Regions from separate parts of the Homo sapiens genome. Here region 2 is linked to region 1. The links are contacts of gene promoters, found by promoter capture Hi-C in blood cells and fetal thymus (Javierre and others, 2016). All regions are on one chromosome and are shown on one strand. The core of a region is centred on a gene start or on the middle of the fragment in contact, and the rest is flanking DNA. Distances in the headings are between cores, read along the strand shown.

Region 1 (3,949 bases), core at 1,048-3,547:
GTTGTTATTCTTAAACTCCACCCCTTTTCCCACCTCCCCCTCTATCTTAAACTCTAGCAAGACTTTAATCCCCTATTGCTAGACTATCAGTTTCTCATAGGAGTGCAGTATGATCTAACTTACATGACCCAAGCTCTCGGAGCAGCGTCTGGGGCACTTAGGAGTAGGCTCTTGTGGTGCCTGGTTTCTCCAGGTCTCCCCGCATGCGCTGTTCGGCCTCCAGGCTTCTGCTCGTGCTGTGCCTCCCGCCTAGGACGCCTGCTTTGCACTCCGTCTCTGACCATCCAAATCCTCCCTGTCCTTCCAATCCTGGCCTATGCATCTCCCTTAGATAGAACTGATCACTCCTCCTCTGGGCTGCCATGCTCCCTCTGCTAGGACACAGACCATAGTCCACTTTGTATTTCTATATGTCCATCTCCCCCAAGAGCCTGGGGGCTTATTTAAGGCACACAATGAGTTGTACCCATTTCTGTGGCAGCCTGACTTTGCAGTGGGGACAGAGGACATGGACGTCAGGTTTAGCCAGCCGTCCATCCCACCACAGGCCAGCGTGGGGGCTTGCGTGCATCATGCCCTTTGCAGGGTCTCGGTGTTCCCACTGTGGAGCAGGGATGATGGCAGTGACCCCACAGGACTCTTATGGGCGGCAAATGACACCCAAGCCCACTGCAAGGCCTCTGACGCTCCTTCAGCCAATCCTCTCCTTCCCTGGACCTTAGTATCCTTATCTGTAAAATGGTGGCGGTGGATGAGAGAGCTTGGACTCGCTGATCGGAGGTCCCTGCCAGCTGGAACAGTGCTGGGTACCCCATTGCAAAAGGAAGGTGGCTGGTTTCTCACAGAACTCCTCAGGGACAGCTGGGAAAAGCTAGTGCCCAGGGCTGGGAGATTGCTGAGACCAGGCTTCTTGTAAACAAGAAAGGCAGGAAGACGGGGTTCCCTCCTCGAATCGTCAATTAATCAATAACTTGGCCTGAGAAGGGGCAGGGCCAGTGACCTCCAGACTGTTTGCTGGCGGCGCAGCCACTATCACCCTGTCTTCCAACTAATTCACAAACCCTTTGCAGCGCCCTCCCCAGCCCCCACAACCTGCCCCCTGCTGTCTTATCTGCAGGCTCCCTGCCCTGGCCCCAGATTCCAGACCCTTGTCCTGTCCTGGACTTTCCCTCTCAGGGAGCCCCTCTGCCCACAGCGTCCTCTCCATTGCCCGAACCAGCCAACTCCCAGCAGCGCTTCAGTCACCAGAGGCACAGCCTCGGAAAAGCTTCCCGGTGTCTCACATCTGTGTCCCCACCAGGTGGGCTTCCTTCCTCTAGGCCTCCAGATTCCCGCTCTGGTTTCTCCTCGGGCACTTGGACACTTGTGGAGTTATTTACAGCCTGGGCTTATCTCTCTCAACTTAGAGCGCAGCTCCTCCGGGAAGGGGCTGGTGTTTACTCCTCTCTTCACCACCCCCAGCCCCCTGAGCAGGCACTCCCTTCAGCTCGGCACCAAGCCTCTCTCTCCCTCCTACCCCTGCGTGAATAATTTCTATCTAAAGGAATGCCCTGCACATGTGCACAGTGGCATCTGACAGCTTCTGAGGTCCTTTCAGGAGCCTCTTCTCATCTGATTTGAGGGAGGTGGGGAGTCTCACCCTCCCGTGACAGAGGAGGACAAGGAGGCCCCAAGAAGTAGAGTGACACTTTCCCAAGGTCGCCCAGGTGGAGGGGTCAGGAGTGTCTCAGCGGAACTCCCGCTAGGGTCAAGGAGACTGACGGACAAGGACCGCTCCTGGGCTGGCCGCTCTGGATTGCGCCCCCTGAACAGAATGTCTTTTTCCATCTGCCCCTGCGGAGGTGGCCAGAAACTCCGTGGCCCTTGCGCCACCGTCAGCTGCACAGGACCAGGCGCTTCCATTGTGGTCCACGCCCGTCTCACTCCCTTTTCGCAAGCCTGCGGGAGGCAGGGACATTTTACAGAGGAGGAAACAGAGGCTGAGGGATGACTTGCCCACGACCGCCAAGCCAGCTTAGGCTCCCGGGTCTTGGTGCGCTCGCCCCATCCAGGGGACCCCAAAACGCCCTCCGCCGCCCCAGTCCCTGGCCTGTGCGCGTGGACGCGGGGTCCCTACTCACAGCCACTTGATGCCATAGCACACGCCGGTCTGGAGCGCCAGGGCGAAGAGCAGCGCCTCGCAGACCTGCGGCCGCGCCCTCATCGTCGCGCGGCGGGCGCGCCCGGGGTCACACCCAGGAGGAGCCGCGCCGAAGTCCTCCGCCTGCACGGCCGCCGCTGGTCCTGCACGCCGCCTGCAGCCGGGGAGAGCGGAGGCGGCGGGTTAAGGCGGCGCGCGGGCGGGGGAGGCGTTTTATTCAAATTACAAAGGAGGGGTCGGGGCCCGGGGAGGCCGAGCGCGGCGGGCGTCCCCTCCCGCTCCGCCCGGCCGGGGGACGCGTCCCGCGCCTGGCTCGAATTAGGCGCGGCCGAAGGCGTGTCTCCCAGCGTGGCCCCGGGCCCCAACGCGCCTTCGAGCCCCTCTGGCCGGGGCAGCCGGAAGGAGGGACAGGAGGCGGCAGAACCGGAGACCCAGGAGAGACCGGGCAGACACAGCGAGAGGGAGAAGGACGCTCAGAGGACAAGGCTGAGAGCCACGGAGACAGAGGGGGAAACCCGGACAGACGCAACCTGGGACGGAAAGGAGAGGAATGAGGAATCAGGAGTCCAGGCGAGGCAGCAGAGTCGAGGACCCGGAGCTGGGGCTTATCCCTGCAATATTGAGCATTAGTTAATAGGGCCTCGGCAATTCTCCTTCCCAAACGTGTTTCAGTTTACCTCCTCAGTAAGCTGGGGCAATTCGGGCACAATTCCGCTTTTATAAAGAACGTTCCCTGGCCGGGCAGGGTGGCTCACGCCTGTAATCCCAGCACTTTGGGAGGTCGAGGCGGGCGGGTCACCTGAGGTCAGGAGCTCGAGACCAGCCTGCCCAACATGGCAAAACCCCGTCTCTACTACGAATACAAAAAATTAGCCGGGCGTGGTGGCGGGCGCCTGTAATCCCAGCTACTCGGGAGGCTGAGGCAGGAGAACCGCTTGAACCCGGGAGGCGGAGGTTGCAGCGAGCGGAGATTGCGCCACTGCACTCTAGCCTGGGCGACAAGAGCGAAACTCCGTCTCAAACAAACAGACAAACAAAAAAAGTTCCCTAACACGATCGCATCTGCTCCTCCCAGCACCCCGTGAGATAGGCACTATCGCTGCCTCATCTCACAGATGAGGAAACTGAGGCACAGAGGTGGGGTTCAGCTAGGGAGCGGCAAGCCGGGTGTCCGGCGAAATCAGGAAATGGGGCTTGCTCGGGGCCCTGCTTTCTCGGTGTGGGAAGGGGAGGATGGGAAACGGGATGGTAGGGCTCTTTGTACAGTGAGGATTCCGAGTCTCCAAGTCCGTCTTTAGCCGCTCCACTTTGGAGGGTGGGAGTGGAAGCATGCGGGCTGGGACTGGGCAGCCCCGCCTTAGCGAAGCGGGGAAGCTCGCGGGGCTGGCGCGGTGTTGCCTCTGGCCTCCAGGCGGCGCCCTCGGGCCGCGGAGGAGAGGCTGCCCCGCCCGCCCGCAGCCCGCGGAGCAGCTATCTCCGCTTTTTTTCTCCTTCACTTCATTCTCACCTCATTAACTCCCTTCCCAGCTTCTCCCAAATTTACCAACACCTGGCGTTCGCCCGGAGTCAGACACAGCCCCAGCCCCTCTCCCCTCGGGAGGAGCAGAGACAAAGGGATTCCTTTCTAAGGGTTTGGGGAGTTGGAAAAGGAGGCGCCCACGGTAGTGGGGGCGCTGGAGCAGAAAAGGGACGTTCTTATCTGGCTCTGTGAGCTTGGGCAAGCCCTCAGCCACCCCAGCCTCGGTGTCCCCTTCCATAAGAACGAGGAATGGGGCTTCGCCGTGCGTCCCCCGAGGACCCCGTCTCCCT
Region 2 (3,949 bases), core at 431-2,930, 280 kb before region 1:
TTGTTTTTATGATGATTTTGTTTCCATGGATTACATTCCCAGCAGTGGGATTTCTGAGTCAAAGGGTATGTATTGTTTCAATTGTTAGAGATAATCAGGTTGTTTTCCCAAAGGGCACAAAATAAATGGCATTACTCCTTACCCTGATTCTGTGCTGGCAATGGCCATCATCAATTTTTATGATTTTTACTAATTTGATGAGTGTAAATGATACCTCAGTATTACTTCAATTTTTGTCAGCCTGGTGCAAGTACTTAGTTTGAGCTACAAGTGAAATTTAACATGTTTTCTTAAGCTTATTAGCTATTTAGGGTATTCTTCTGTGAATTTGCCTATTCATTTACTTTACCTAGTTTTTAAAAATTGAGTTGCTTGCATTTTTCTCATAAGTTCCTAAGAGTACTTGGTATTTTTTTCCCAAATCTGACAATTACATCTTGACTTATGATACCTTATACAAAAAGTTCATATTTGTTGTATCGTGTAATTCTGTTTTCTGTTTTATATTTTCTGGGCACTCTTGAGTTGAAGAGGACTCTCCTATACCTTGCTTCTATAGATATTTTTTGCTAACTTTGAGATTTATATTATTTTACTTTTTAAATTAAATATTTAATACAAATTGCAATTTATTTTTTTTTTCTTTTAATCCACCCATCTGCACACTGATATCTAGTATAGATAGTCCATATCTTGTAAGGTAGAAATTATTTCTTCATAGATGAATTCATTGTGCCAGCACCTTTCTTTTCCCACTGAATTTAAATAATACTTTTGTAATATATTAAAAGTGCATATATACTGGGATCTATTTCTGGATTCGCTCTTTTTTTGTTTATCTTATCCTTTTGTGTATTTTGTAACTTTCAGATTGATTTAACTACAGGGGATTTTTTTGTGTGGTCTAAAATCAAGTAAGGCACGTCCTGTTGCTACTCTTCTTTTTGATACTATTTTTGGCTATTCTCAGAACTTTATTCTTTTATGTGAACTTTAAGCTTATTTTATCCTACTTTAAAAGACCAATCTTATTGGAATTTTAATCGAAATTTTTATATCAGTTGAAGTTTTACAATTATTTTGGGAAAGATGTCATTTTATATTAGTATACCCATCCAAGAACATGGTGTCTTTTCATTTGTTTATATTTTATTTTATTCCTTCAACAAGATTGTAGTTCTCTTTATATGGTCATTTGGCTTTCTGTTACATTTGTTCTTAAGTATGTTATAGTTTTTACAGTATTTTGTATAAAATAGGTGTTCCATTCCATTCTTGTGTGCTTACTGCTATTATAAGGAAAAGCTATACTTCTAGGAAAATCTTATTTATATTTAGTAATATATCTAATTGTTTTTATTGCTATTGTTTTTTTAAGGAAAGCTCTCCTTTTTTGGCATACACATTATCATCAGTAAAAGGATAGGCTTTTCTTCTCTAATGTTTATACTGATTTTCTAGACTTACTGCATTTGCTAAACCTTCTGGAACTTTCAGAATAATGTTGAAAAGTAATAGGCATTGTGACCATCCCAGTTCCTTGTTCTAATTGAAAAAGTTCAGTAGTTTGCTGTTCAGAATATTTTCTGTTAATTTTGAAAACTATTGGCCGGGCGTGGTGGCTCATGCCTGTAATCCCAGCACTTTGGAAGGCCTAGGCAGGTGGATCACCTGAGGTCAGGAGTTCAAGACCAGCCTGGCCAACATGGCGAAACCCCGTCTCTACTAAAAATACAAAAATTAGCTGGGCGTGGTGGCACGCACCTGTAATTCCTGAGGCAGGAGAATCACTTGAACCCAGGCAGCGGAGGTTGTGATGAGCCGAGATTGCACCACTGCACCCCAGTCTGGGCGACAAGAGCGAAACTACATCTGAAAGGAAAAAAAAAAAAAGAAAAACGAACATATATATATAAGAAAAAAATATATATACATATATTTTTTCATATATATATATATATATATGTTCGTTTTTCTTTTTCTTTTTCTTTTTGAGACGGAGTTTTGCTCTTGTTGCCCGTGCTGGAGTGCAATGGCTCGATCTTGACTCACTGCAACCTCCGCCTCAAAAAGGAAAATATTTTAAATAATTCTTTTTATTCACTTAATGCTTTTGTTAGGATTGGTTGCTGAATTTTTTGAAATGCCTTTCCACATTTATTAATATTATATATTTTCTTCCTTTATAATTGTAATAAGGTATGTGGATTTCCCAGTGTTGTATTACTGACTAGTTATAGGTTATTCTTTTGATCATTACTTATAAGCAAGATTAGTTTTTAGCAGTTGTGTTGTTGTTATGGGGGGAGGTATAAATTACCGTCTCTCCCAAAATCATAAAATTGAGTTGTGAATGAATTGTGAAGCTTTCCATCTTATTCTATGATCCTAATCTGTAAAATGATGATGATAATAGCATTTGTCTCTGGATCGCTGGGAAGATGAAAGGTATTAATGTGAACTGCTTAGTACAGTGCCTGAATTGTATGTGTCAGCTATCATTATCATCATTACCATCTGAAACAGATTAAATAATTTTGAAAGTTTTTAGTTCTTTGAAGGTTAGGACTTAGCTAGTAAATCATCCAGTTCAGGTGCATTTTATAAGGGTAAATCTTCTTTCAATCCCTTTAGTACTCATCGCTCTGTCCATTTTTTCCTGCTTCTCCTTGGTTTATTTTGGAATTTGTTTTTTGGTAGGAAACCACCTATTTCCTCTAGATTTCCAACATTATTGCTGAAATAATGCACATAGTTTTATTTTATAATTCTTTTAATAATTTCAATAATTTACAGCACATTTTCTAATTAAGACCAGAAACTACTCTAATGTTGTAGTTAGAAATGTTGTTACATTATGACCTCTTCTTGGACAGGATGCTCTCTGATGTTGAAATTGTAATAACTTTTTTCATGTAAACTAAAACAAAATATTTCAGATACTTTTGCCTTAAAGTGTTTCTCAGAATGAGAATGGAGAATGTGGACTATATACGTTCAGGGAATTTATATCTCAGTTTACAATGTTGTTCCTAGCATATAGCACCAAGCTGGCTCAGAGCGAATGCTCAGCAAATATTTGTTAAATGAATGAATGAAGAAATGGGTGAAATATAATCCTGTTGGATAATAACTGAACCAGGTAGATTTTTTGAGGAATTTTTTAAATGGTAGATTTTTAATTACCTTTCCAAAGATGATTAGTACTAACCTTGGATATGTTTTGCCACAGTTATAGTATATTTTATATATAAAATAATTTAATATTTCATTTTGGATACAGTGCATGCTAATGAAAAATTCATGTTGAAAGCATTGTGTTTTTTTTTGTTTTTGTTTTTTTTTGTGACGGAGTCTCGCTCTGTCACCCAGGCTAGAGTGCAGTGGCATGATCTTGGCTCACTGCAAGCTCTGTCTCCCAGGTTCATGCCATTCTCCTGCCTCAGCCTCCCAAGTAGCTGGGACTTACAGGCGCCCACCACCATGCCCAGCTATTTTTTTTTGTATTTTTAGTAGAGAAGGGGTTTCACCGTGTTAGCCAGGATGGTCTTGATCTCCTGACCTCGTGATCCACCCGCCTCGGCCTCCCAAAGTGCTGGGATTACAGGCGGGAGCCACCGTGCCTGGCCTGAAAGCATTGTTTTTAAATTAACTGCAGTTTACTAAATGAGTAAACCAGTAGTCAGGACTTACTGATAGATCTCATAGTCTTTAACTAGGACCTCTTATAGGCAATTATGCTACTAAGTTCATTTTCTCTAGTTTACTGAATGTTTAATAGAGAATGGAAATGTAATGGGTAAGTTAAATGAGCCCTTCCCAAAACATGTTCAGAACTTTTGGCTTAGAGCAAAAGTCAGCTTTCAAATGTTGAAAAGGTGAATGAAGAATAAAATAGGAAGAATAAAATCAGCGTAAAGAAGTAAAGCATTCTTTGAGGGCAGTTAAG

What was found. Contacts are between HindIII fragments. The CHiCAGO score rates a contact against its expected background, and 5 or more counts as called.
Region 2: a contact is called between a fragment that was not itself captured here and the fragment with the promoter of WNT11 in region 1, in 1 of 17 cell types (megakaryocytes). The highest score is 5.1, in megakaryocytes.

Annotation. Positions count from the first base shown.
Region 1 is chr11:76,204,205-76,208,153 of GRCh38, forward strand. WNT11 (Wnt family member 11) reads right to left here and starts at 2,298. Exons shown (of 5, transcript NM_004626.3): 1 at 2,121-2,298. The coding sequence starts at 2,203. RefSeq lists silencers at 2,211-2,450, 3,431-3,650 and an enhancer at 2,755-3,422. The HindIII fragment of the contact is 7,460 bases long and covers 1,266-3,949 here.
Region 2 is chr11:75,921,059-75,925,007 of GRCh38, forward strand. All of the region lies in intron 6 of UVRAG (UV radiation resistance associated), which reads left to right. Among named protein-coding and RNA genes, the nearest start is that of UVRAG, 110 kb to the left of the region's middle. The HindIII fragment of the contact is 1,368 bases long and covers 997-2,364 here.